Linked DNA regions of Homo sapiens: all the other regions are linked to region 4. The links are contacts of gene promoters, found by promoter capture Hi-C in blood cells and fetal thymus (Javierre and others, 2016). All regions are on one chromosome and are shown on one strand. The core of a region is centred on a gene start or on the middle of the fragment in contact, and the rest is flanking DNA. Distances in the headings are between cores, read along the strand shown.

Region 1 (2,700 bases), core at 174-2,673, 380 kb after region 4:
ATTTAAAAAAAAAAATAAAGAAACCTAAGCGTGTAGTGTAAGAACTCTGAGAGCCAATCGCTCAATTGAAACTTTTCTTTGAGACCTTGGAGCAGGATTTGCAGGACCAAAGTGTGGGCCAATGAGGTGACAGACTGTCTCAAGAGAAAGAAGGGGAAATTGATGGTAGGAAAATTCATGATGAATTCCTGAAGAGGCTTTGTTTCAGTGAAGCATTTCTTAATTTTATTTTCCAGAATCTTCCCTTCAGAGAATACTAGAAAGTGTTCAGTATGTTAAGCCCTTAGAAATAAATTCTGGCCGGGCGCGGTGGCTCACGCCTGTAATCCCAGCACTTGGGGAGGCTGAGGTGGGTGGATCACAAGGTCAGGAGATCAAGACCATCCTGGCCAACACGGTGAAACCCCATCTCTACTGGGCGCCTGTAGTCCCAGCTACTCGGGAGGCTGAGGCAGGAGAATGGCGTGAACCCGGGAGGGAACCCGGGAGGCGGAGCTTGCAACGAGCCGAGATCGAGCTTGCAATGAGCCAAGATCGCGCCACTGCACTCCAGCCTGGGATACAGAGCGAGACTCCGTCTCCAAAAAAAATAAAAATAAAATTTAAAAGAAAAAAAAAATTCTACAGAAATTCACTAGAATCTCTCCTTCCTTCCTTTCTTCCAACTTTTCCTCCTTTCTTCTTTCCTCCGTTCCTCTTTCCTTCCTTTTCCCTCGCCTTATTCCTAAATGGATTTGAAATAACAAACGCCTCCGTGTTCTTGCGGTCCTGCACTTTAATAACACGGAATTGCACACTGCTTCATATGAGTGGGCCAGTGTCTGGAGTCCAAAATCTTTTCTGTTCTAAGAAATCTAGGCCAAAGCTGAACCTTCAGTAATGAGATCTAACCTATAATCAAATTAAATAGCACAGCATTAGATCAATTTCAGCCCCATACATCCACTGCTATTGGCTTCTACTAAATGTTTTAAATTGGTACAAAAGCCTTACTGAAAGGGAATCTTATATAGACCTATCATATAGAGGATGTTTCCTTAATCATCTTTTTAATGAAAAAAAAACTAAGCAAAAAGAAAACAAAATTAAGATCTAAGAGGCTTCATGATATCATCCCAAACCCAGCCAGTGATATTTTTGAAAGGGCAACAAAGAACTGGCGATAACATCTTTATTTTGGTTTGCTTCTAAGCCTAGAGGCACGGAGAAGATGAGAACATACACTTAGATCATGCCAACTTAGAAGACTTTCTAGTTTTGAAAATAGCATTTCTTCCTCTCCTTCCCAAACAGAGTAGCACTGGAACGCTCCCCGTCTTCATCCTACACTCTTTGACATCACCTCAAAGAGGAAGTCAATTTTACTACATGATTAAGACTCAAGCGAAGCATAATTCATTCAAGCAACTCACTACATATGTCAAAAATATAAATCCAGGGCTGGGCATGGTGGCTCATGCCTGTAATCCCAGCACTTTGGGAGGCCGAGGCTGGTGGCTCACTAGAGGTCAGGAGTTCGAGACCAGCCTAGCCAACATGGTGAAACCCCGACTCTACTAAAAATACAAAAATTAGCCAGGCGTGGTGGCACACACCTGTAATCCCAGCTACTCAGAAGGCTGAGGCAGGAGAATCGCCTGAACCCAGGAGGTGGAGATTGCAGTGAGCCAAGATGGCACCATTGCACTCCAGCCTGGGCAACAGGGCGAGACTCTGTCTCAAAAAATAAAATAATAAAATAAAATAAATAAAATAAAATAAAATAAATCCACGCCTTTCAGGAAAAGATGAAAAATCAGAGGGTCAAGGAAGACTGCATGGGCAACACATTAACTCTCTCCCATGTTCTTTCCTGAGAAGCCAAGATGCCCTGGCTTATGGTCCAACTCCTACCCCCACAGCCCAGAGGAGTCTCCCCTCCTCTAAAGTGGGTCTTAGAAACAGGTCCTTCCTGGCCGGGCTTGGTGGGTCACGCCTGTAATCCCAGCACTTTGGGAGGCTGAAGCAGTCAGATCACCTGAGGTCAAGAGTTCTAGACTAGCCTGCCTAACCCCATCTCTACTAAAAAATACAAAAAAAATTCACCGGGTGTGGTGGCACCTACCTGTAATCCCAGCTACTTGGGAGACTGAGGCAGCAGAATCACATGAACCCAGGAAGCAGAGGTTGCAGTGAGCCGAGATCGCACCACTGCACTCCAGCCTGGGCGGCAGAGTGAGATGCCATCTCAAATAAATAAATAAATAAAATATTTATCATGAATGATATCCCAAGGGGCCTGTGAAGACGCTGATGGTGTGTGGTCTGGCTTCCTTCTTTTTTTTTTTTTTTTGAGATGGAGTCTCGCTTTGTCACCCTAGCTGCAGTGCAGTGGCTCGATCTCGGCTCCCCGCAACCTCCACCTCCCAGGTTCAAGTGATGTTCGTGCCTCAGCCTCCCGAGTAGCTGGGATTACAGGTGCACACCACCACTCCAGGCTAATTTTTGTATTTTTAGTAGAGACAAGGGTTCACTATGTTGGCCCGGCTGGTCTCGAACTCCTGACCTCAGGTGATCCACCCGCCTTGGCCTCCCAAAGTGCTGGGATTACAGGCGTGAGCCACTGCACCTGGCCGGTCCTGTTTTCATATGCATTCAAATTCATTGATTTGCCACAAGAATGCTATCAGGTAGGTGCTGTGTTCAACCCCACTTTAAGGG
Region 2 (2,700 bases), core at 68-2,567, 490 kb after region 4:
CGAGACCAGCCCTACCAACATGGAGAAACCCCATCTCTACTGAAAATACAACATTAGCCGGGCATGGTGGCGGGTGCCTGTAATCCCAGCTACTCGGGAGGCTGAGGCAGGAGAATCGGCTGAACCTGGGAGGCGGAGGTTGTAGTGAACCGAGATCATGCCAGTGCACTCCAGCCTGGGCAACAAGAGCGAAACTCTGTCTCAAAATAATAATAATAACAACAGCTATGAAAAGAAATTAGTAATTAGAATCGTAGAGATGGAGAGACTTAGGAAGTACTGTCTTTTTCCCTGTCCTTTTCTCCCGTCTCTGTTTATCAGGCATCTGTTGACCGTGGAGTGTGTGTTGAGCTGGGTTATGAATACAACACCCTCCCCTCCATGAGCTCAGTATATAAGCTCTCACCTCTAACTATGTGAAGGAGTTTCTTCCTCCACTTCCCTGTCAAAGTTGCATATTTCTCTTTGACTATTTTAAGCGACAGGATGCTTGAGACCAGGTAACTCGTTTCTTTTTACCTCTAAATGTAGAAAGTTCTTCCATTCAGTGAAACGAAGTCAGCCACCCTACCCTTTGATCTGAGGACTCTTTGTCCCTTCGGTTCTCTCCTGCAGCTGTGCATTTTCAGCTTTCATATTCCTCATAGACACCAGCTCCGGGACACCCATCCTGGGTGCCTGTCTTCTTGCGTCAGGACCACAGGCAAAACTAGCCACACCTAATTGAATACGTTATTCCAGGTGGTATTTGCCTAGGGCGTATACACAGCATTCATATTTCTTGTGATCAGGATAGTCACATTAATTCAGTTTCTGTTAGTTCATCCCCTTTCAGAAGCTGTTTGCTCTTGGCTCATTAAACCTGTGAGCAACCGAATCCCTCAAATATCAAAAAAAAAAAAAAAAAAACTTACTAAGCAAACCTCATCCCATCTTTATATGGAAAGATATTTGTTCTGTTTTACCTCAACTTAGGAGAGTACTGTTCCTTTTAAATATGTTAATGGTTTAGTACCAAGGTAGAGTTCATTTTAGAGTGTGCAGTTAGCATTTCCTTGCCTTCTAACTGTGAATTTTTGTGTCATTGATAACATCGTTGAACAGGCTAGGTCCAAGGATACAGCTCTGTGATCTTTTGTGGACTTACTAGCAGCACTCTATGCCAAGCGTTTTTTTTTTTTTTTAAGGTTGCCTTTTTTTTCTTTTTAATTTTACTATTATTATACTTTAAGTTTTAGGGTACATGTGCACAATGTGCAGGTTTGTTACGTATATATACATGTGCCATGTTGGTGTGCTGCACCCATTAACTTGTCATTTAGCATTAGGTATATCTCCTAATGTTATCCCTCCCCTCTCCCCCGACCCCACAACAGTCCCCGGCGTGTGATGTTCCTGTTCCTGTATCCATGTGTTCTCATCGTTCAATTCCCACCTATGAGTGAGAATATGCGGTGTTTGGTTTTTTGTCCTTGCAATAGTTTGCTGAGAATGATGGTTTCCAGCTTCATCCACGTCCCTACAAAGGACATGAACTCATCATTTTTTATGGCTGCATAGTATTCCATGGTGTATATGTGCCACATTTTCTTAATCCAGTCTATCATTGTTGGACATTTGGGTTGTTTCCAAGTCTTTGCTATTGTGAATAGTGCTGCAATAAACATACGTGTGCATGTGTCTTTATAGCAGCATGATTTATAATCCTTTGGGTATATACCCAGTAATGGGATGGCTGGGTCAAATGGTATTTCTAGTTCTAGATCCCTGAGGAATTGCCACACTGACTTCCACAAGGGTTGAACTAGTTTACAGTCCCACCAACAGTGTAAAAGTTTTCCTATTTCTCCACATCCTCTCCAGCACCTGTTGTTTCCTGACTTTTTAATGATCGCCATTCTAACTGGTGTGAGATGGTATCTCATTGTGGTTTTGATTTGCATGTCTCTGATGGCCAGTGATGATGAGCATTTTTTCACATGTTTTTTGGCTGCATAAATGTCTTCTTTTGAGAAGTGTCTGTTCATATCCTTCACCCGCTTTTTGATGGGGTTGTTTTTTTCTTGTAAATTTGTTGGAGTTCTTTGTAGATTCTGGATATTAGCCCTTTGTCAGATGAGTAGGTTGCAAAAATTTTCTCCCATTCTGTAGGTTGCCTGTTCACTCTGATGGTGGTTTCTTTTGCTGTGCAGAAGCTCTTTAGTTTAATTAGATCCCATTTGTCAATTTTGGCTTTTGTTGCCATTGCTTTTGGTGTTTTAGACATGAAGTCCTTGCCCATGCCTGTGTCCTGAATGGTATTGCCTAGGTTTTCTTCTAGGGTTTTTATGGTTTTAGGTCTAACATGTAAGTCTTTAATCCATCGTGAATTAATTTTTGTGTAAGGTGTAAGGGAGGGATCCAGTTTCAGCTTTCTACATATGGCTAGCCAGTTTTCCCAGCACCATATATTAAATAGGGAATCCTTTCCCCATTGCTTGTTTTTGTCAGGTTTGTCAAAGATCAGATAATTGTAGATGTGTGGCATTATTTCTGAGGGCTCTGTTCTGTTCCATTGGTCTATATCTCTGTTTTGGTACCAGTACCATGCTGTTTTGGTTACTGTAGCCTTGTAGTATAGTTTGAAGTCAGGTAGCGTGATGCCTCCAGCTTTGTTCTTTTGGCTTAGGATTGACTTATGCCAAGCGTTTTTATGTGAAT
Region 3 (2,700 bases), core at 74-2,573, 440 kb after region 4:
CTGGAGTGCGGTGGTGCAATCTCGGCTCACTGCAACCTCCGCCTCCCATGTTCAAATGATTCTTCTGCCTCAGCCTCCTGAGTAGCTGGAATTACAGGCGCACACCACCACACGTGGCTAAATTTTGTATTTTTAGCACAGACGGGGTTTCACCATGTTGGCCAGGCTGGTCTTGAACTCCTGACCTCATGTGATCTGCCTGCCTTGGCCTCCCAAAGTGCTGGGATTACAGGCGTGAGCACTGCGTTCGGCCTAGGTTTTGTGTCTCGCAGCCTCAACCACCAGAAAAAGAATTATTGGTCCCAAATTCAAAATTTCCAGGGAAGGGACTTAGTGGCTGGGAGGTGGGTCACTTTGGCCAAGGGATGGCACACAGAAGAAAACACCAGTTCCCTTGGAGACCACAGGAATGAGCTGGGAGCAGTTCTTGGAAGAAGAGACGGTGCTATCGGAAAAAGTGGATGTGCCAGGCGGACTGGGCGGACTAAACAATAGGTTTCCAATTATTGGGTCTACACTTTCCTATATCTAGATTCCACTGAATACTTATTCTGAAATATATTCTTCCAAAAACAGGGTTTGTGGTTAAATAAATGTAGGGGAAACTATAGATTTTATCACTCATAGAGAATCATGAGACATATTAGCATATGAAAGGCTCTGACAATTTCTTTTAAAAAGAAACATCTTCAAGAATATTTGACCCAGTGTTTCCCAAGTTCATTTGATCACTGAAACCTTTTTTAATGCCATGCCCGTAACATTCCATGGGATTAGTGTTCTAAAAACATATTTTGGGAAAGCCATTCTAAGTGATAGATGTTCTTCAGAAAGACGTGAGTCAAATTCTTGAAAATAAGATAGCAGCCTGGGCACGGTGGCTTGCACCTGTGATCCCACCACTTTGGGAGGCCGAAGCGGATGGATCACCTGAGGTCAGGAGTTCGAGACCAGGCTGGCCAACATGGCGAAACCCCGTCCCTACTAAAAATACAAAAAAAAAACCACACAAAAAATTAGTTGGGCGTGGTGGCAGGCGCCTGTAATCTCAGTTGCTTGGGAGGCTGAGATAGGAGAATCACTTGAACCCAGGAGGCAGAGGTTGCAGTGAGCCGAGATCATGCCATTGCACTCCAGCCTGGGTGACAGAGCAAGACTCTGTCTCAAAAAAAAAAAAAAAAAGAAAGAAAGAAAAGAAAAAAAAAAGGCCTTTACACAAACCAGAGAGCTGGGTATTTATAGAAACTGTTAAATTATTTTCAAAGAGTTGTTTCATAACGTAATTTAAACGCCATCAGTGCTACCAGTTTCTAGGCTCAAGAGTTTTACGTGCTCAGAGTTACGTGTCTTATTAACATGGGCTACATCTCTGCAGCCCCAGACCTTCCCTATCTGGAGCATTCCTCTCCCGGGCACCCTCACATGTTGTTCAGAAGCCTTTTCAACTGTTTTCTAATACCCTGTCCCCTTTGGGGTAAAGCACATCTTTATGCCATTATGGGGCTGGCCACTGCAGTTTGCAAAATCAACTTAGCACAGGGACATCTGTTCTACTCTGTGTGCTGGTGTCATAAAAGGTCCCACTGGGCTGAGCAATGCACCTGAGAGCAGTGTTAACAGCACCTCACATCTGGGGTGGCCTGGAGGCTGGGCCAGCATGAATTAGTGTAATGAAGGTCTTCTCCTCTCTCACACGAGGTTGGAATCTCACACCAGATCAACTACCTGGATTAGAGATACAACCAAAGAGCACAGTAAACTGCATGGACATTTAGGACCAGAGCACTAATATAGGTTGGCTATTAAATCTGGAAACAGGTGAATATATAATAAATGGTTTGTTGGTATTACCTTATGATGCATGATAATATAATATCTACATGTCCAGACTTCATGGCCACTCTGTAGCAGAAGCTATTATTTATATCAAGCAGTTATTAAGTGTCAGGAGGTCCTCTTCTAAATGCTTCACCTGAATTAGCTAATTTAATTCTCACGATGCCATGAGGAGGGTACTGTCATCATTTCCACAGTAATAGGTCAGGAAACCAAGGCACAAAGGGCTTCAGCATCTGGCCCAAGGTCCGCTGTTGGTAAGTGGTGGGGCTGAGCTCGGGGAGCCCCACTCTGGAACCGGTACTCTTACACATACACTACGGCCGCCTCTCCAGGTGTCATGAAAGTCTCCTAGGCTTTGCTGAATAGCAGTCAAAAAAAACTGGGATTTAGCCTTCTCTATCTTGCTATTTTTGTTTCCATGGGTGGCATAGGAAAAATCATTGTAATTAACATCTGTACCACTCTTTGTAGTTTGGTCCTCATCACGACCCATTACAGCAAACCAGGCAAGGCCTATATTTCCATTTCCAGATGAGGAAGCTGAGCCTTTAACAGGATCCCTACCTAACAAATGGCAGAGCCATGTCCTCTGACGTCAGGAGCTTCATGATTTTAACTTACTGCTTGTGTTGGGTTCTGTGGTAGCCAATATACAAGGTGGTCCCGAGTGATCTTTGCCTCTTGTGTTATTTCCTCCCACGCTGAACAGGACTCACTTGTATAACCACTGTGACATTGTGGAAATGATGATGTGTGACTTCTGAGGTGAGGTCATAAAAGGCATTGCAGTTTCTACCTTGATCTCTCCTGGATCATTCACTCAGGAGGAAGTTGGCTGCCATGTTGTGAGGATGCACAAGC
Region 4 (2,700 bases), core at 119-2,618:
ATATTTTTATCAGGGGGTGTGTGTGTGTATATGTAAATAAACTCTCTATACCTTTGTACATCTTTTTTTGTTCACTTAACAGTGTATCTTGACCATCCTTATACCTAAGTCAGCCTTCTTTGATAAATGTTGCTGGTCTCTTGGTATGATTTTTCTTTTTACTATGAAAACCTTTCAACATATACAAAAGTAGAAAGCATCATGTAATATTTCTGGATGCCCCAATATTATAATATCCATGCAGCCTCAATAACTATCAGCCCTTAGCCAATCTTTGTTTTATGTCTCCTCCCACCCACTTTTCCTCTTCCCCTGATTATTTTGAAACGAATCTCAGTCGTCACAGCATTTCGTCTGTAAATGTCATTTTCAGTCTATTAGTTTCTTAAAAACACATCTGCTGTGGCCGAGTTTAGAGCTGAGGAGAGTTATATGAGCTCATAGTGTCACTCTGTCTTCAAGTTCCTCAGTCTGAAATCAGTTGGTACAAGGGAAGAAAATAGAGAGAGGCAGCACTAACCTCTAGCCAAGCACACTTTCCATCTCTCTGCAGATTGCCTCATGTCAGGATGTTAGCGTGACCGTCACGTCTGGAAGGCTTTATGGCTGATATAAATTCAGGTCCGTTGTTCACTAGGCATGAAGCCCTCCGTTGTAAGGGAACCAGCCATCACCCTCATTACGAGATGCATAAATGTAGGACTTGAAGATAAAAGCTATTGGGTTCTTTTCGTCTCTCTGACACCTGAAGATGAATTTCTTGAACCTTGTTCTCGTGTTTAAAAAAAAAAAATTAACCAAGATTGAGCCTGTCAGTTTCTATCAGAGTTAAATCTGAGTAAAGGAGAAAAAAGCTTGCCACCTTTTAAAATAGTGATTCCTTCACTCCCTGGGAGTTAGAAAACTGGGCTAAGTGTTTTTGTGTAGCCCGTGTGACCTGGAGGCCGTGCTATAACCCCTGCAGGAATTACTCATAAAAAGGGAGGGATGTACCTGCCCTGTGGTAGAGATCAGAAGTCTACTCTGAGGTTGTTATTTTTAAATAACATCAGTGGAAAAGGTATTTTAAAAGGAAAACTCTGTACAGAGAACCCAAGCGGGATTGTGTTGCTGTCATTGTGACCGTCTCTTACCTGATGGCTCTGCCTCCCGGGCAGGCTAGGAGCTCCGGGATGACGTCCCAAGACTCGGGCGCATAGCGGGGGCTGCTGAAGATCGGAGTGTGAGGCTGAGAGATGAGGTCCAGGTGGAGCACGTGAAAAGCTTCCTGTGTCTGAAAACACGACTCCTTCCAGTTCTTTTGTCTGTCTGCACATTATGAGTATTTTGGTACTACTGAATCCGTTTTTAAAAGTTCACCACGTCGTGCCTGACACAGGTGTCTCCTGAAAGAATGAGTGAGGAAGTGAATGCGTGGAAGGGGTGGGACTGGGAGGCAGCCCTTCTGTTCTGTTTATGCCGTGCAGACCAATGCCAGGCACTTCGATGTTTGTTGAGTGAATGCAGGAACAGATGTGTAGTCAGAGGGCGTTTCCTCCGCGGTGCTGGCCAGCTGCTAAGTCAGGCTCTGTAGTCCCATTACTGGTCTTAGAGAAGTTACTTTCACATTCAGTTTTTGTTTGTAAAGACAGTCCATGGGAAAGTTTGTTATTCTCAGTTTGTTTGTTTGAGACATAGTTTCTTTCTTGTCGCCCAGGCTGGAGTGCAGTGGTGTGATCTTGGCTCACTGCAACCTCCGCCTCCCGGGTTCAAGCGATTCTCCTGCCTCAGCCTCCCAAGTAGCTGAGATTACAGGCGCTGACCACCATGCCTGGCTAATTTTTGTATTTTTAGTAGAGACAGGGTTTCATCATGTTGGCCAGGCTGGTCTCGAACTCCTGACCTCAGGTGATCCACCTGCCTGGGCTTCCCAAAGTGCTGGGATTACAGGTGTGAGTCACCATGCCCAGCCTATTCTCAGTTTTTTATTTGGCTCATTGTGTGTGTGAGCCATAGGATTGGTCCCATGAGGAATTACGAAGTAGAAGACATGCCTCTTGCTTTCAAGGAAGATATAACGTGAGGGAGATAGGGTAGATAAAACTTAATGAAAACGCAAATGCCTGCGGTGTCAACACTGAGTCAGTACTGCTGTTTAGAGATATCCCATGGACAAGATACATAGACTTTTTGCTGTAGGAACTGTAAATTTTACTGAGTGGCTCACCTCTCCCTCAGCTTAATATTCTGCCTTCAGCTGGGCATGGTAGCCTGCACCTGTAGTTCCAGCTACTTGGAAGGCTGAGGCAGGGGGGTCACTTAAGCCCAGGAATTCTGTGGGTGTCTGCACTAAGTTTGGCATCAACTTGGTGACCTCCTGGGAACGGGGGACCACCAAGTTGCCTAGGAAGGGATGAAGCAGCCCAGGCTGGAAATGAAGCAGGTTAAAACTCCTGTGCTGATTAGTAATGGGATTACGCCTGTGACTAGCCATGCACTCCAGCCTGGGCAACATAGCGAGACCCTGTCTCTAAAAAAAGAAACCAAACAAACAAAAATGGAGTTCTGCCTTCAAAATGCTAAGAAGTGGGTATCACATTCCCTTCTTTCCTCTGAAAAGTCTCTCGGAGTGGTGTTTGGCTTTGCAATGCAGGCGTAGCCTCTAAGAGTGCTCTTGGGATAGACCAAACTCTGTGCCCGAATAGAAAGCTCACTGGGCAG

The links. The method cuts DNA at HindIII sites, captures the fragments that hold promoters and counts their contacts. A CHiCAGO score of 5 or more calls a contact.
Region 1: a contact is called between a fragment that was not itself captured here and the fragment with the promoter of XXYLT1-AS2 in region 4, in 2 of 17 cell types (neutrophils and naive B cells). The highest score is 6.1, in neutrophils.
Region 2: a contact is called between a fragment that was not itself captured here and the fragment with the promoter of XXYLT1-AS2 in region 4, in 7 of 17 cell types (total B cells, M1 macrophages, erythroblasts and 4 more). The highest score is 7.2, in total B cells.
Region 3: a contact is called between a fragment that was not itself captured here and the fragment with the promoter of XXYLT1-AS2 in region 4, in 1 of 17 cell types (naive CD4 T cells). The highest score is 6.2, in naive CD4 T cells.

The regions. Positions count from the first base shown.
Region 1 is chr3:194,763,147-194,765,846 of GRCh38, reverse strand. All of the region lies in intron 3 of LINC01968 (long intergenic non-protein coding RNA 1968), which reads right to left. LINC01972 (long intergenic non-protein coding RNA 1972) reads left to right here. Exons shown (of 3, transcript NR_146990.1): 3 at 237-609. The region is part of intron 2 of LOC105374292 (a long non-coding RNA gene); the gene reads right to left. Among named protein-coding and RNA genes, the nearest start is that of LINC01972, 4.2 kb to the left of the region's middle. The HindIII fragment of the contact is 6,875 bases long and covers 1-2,700 here.
Region 2 is chr3:194,655,668-194,658,367 of GRCh38, reverse strand. The region is part of intron 7 of LSG1 (large 60S subunit nuclear export GTPase 1); the gene reads left to right. Among named protein-coding and RNA genes, the nearest start is that of LSG1, 15 kb to the left of the region's middle. The HindIII fragment of the contact is 4,490 bases long and covers 1-2,700 here.
Region 3 is chr3:194,708,299-194,710,998 of GRCh38, reverse strand. LINC01968 (long intergenic non-protein coding RNA 1968) reads right to left here and starts at 2,578. Exons shown (of 4, transcript NR_037891.1): 1 at 1,852-2,578. All of the region lies in intron 2 of LOC105374292 (a long non-coding RNA gene), which reads right to left. The HindIII fragment of the contact is 5,304 bases long and covers 1-2,700 here.
Region 4 is chr3:195,146,539-195,149,238 of GRCh38, reverse strand. XXYLT1-AS2 (XXYLT1 antisense RNA 2) reads right to left here and starts at 1,368. Exons shown (of 2, transcript NR_102711.1): 1 at 1,134-1,368. All of the region lies in intron 3 of XXYLT1 (xyloside xylosyltransferase 1), which reads left to right. It also overlaps the pseudogene RN7SL36P. RefSeq lists enhancers at 1,251-1,300, 1,541-1,650. The HindIII fragment of the contact is 4,550 bases long and covers 1,266-2,700 here.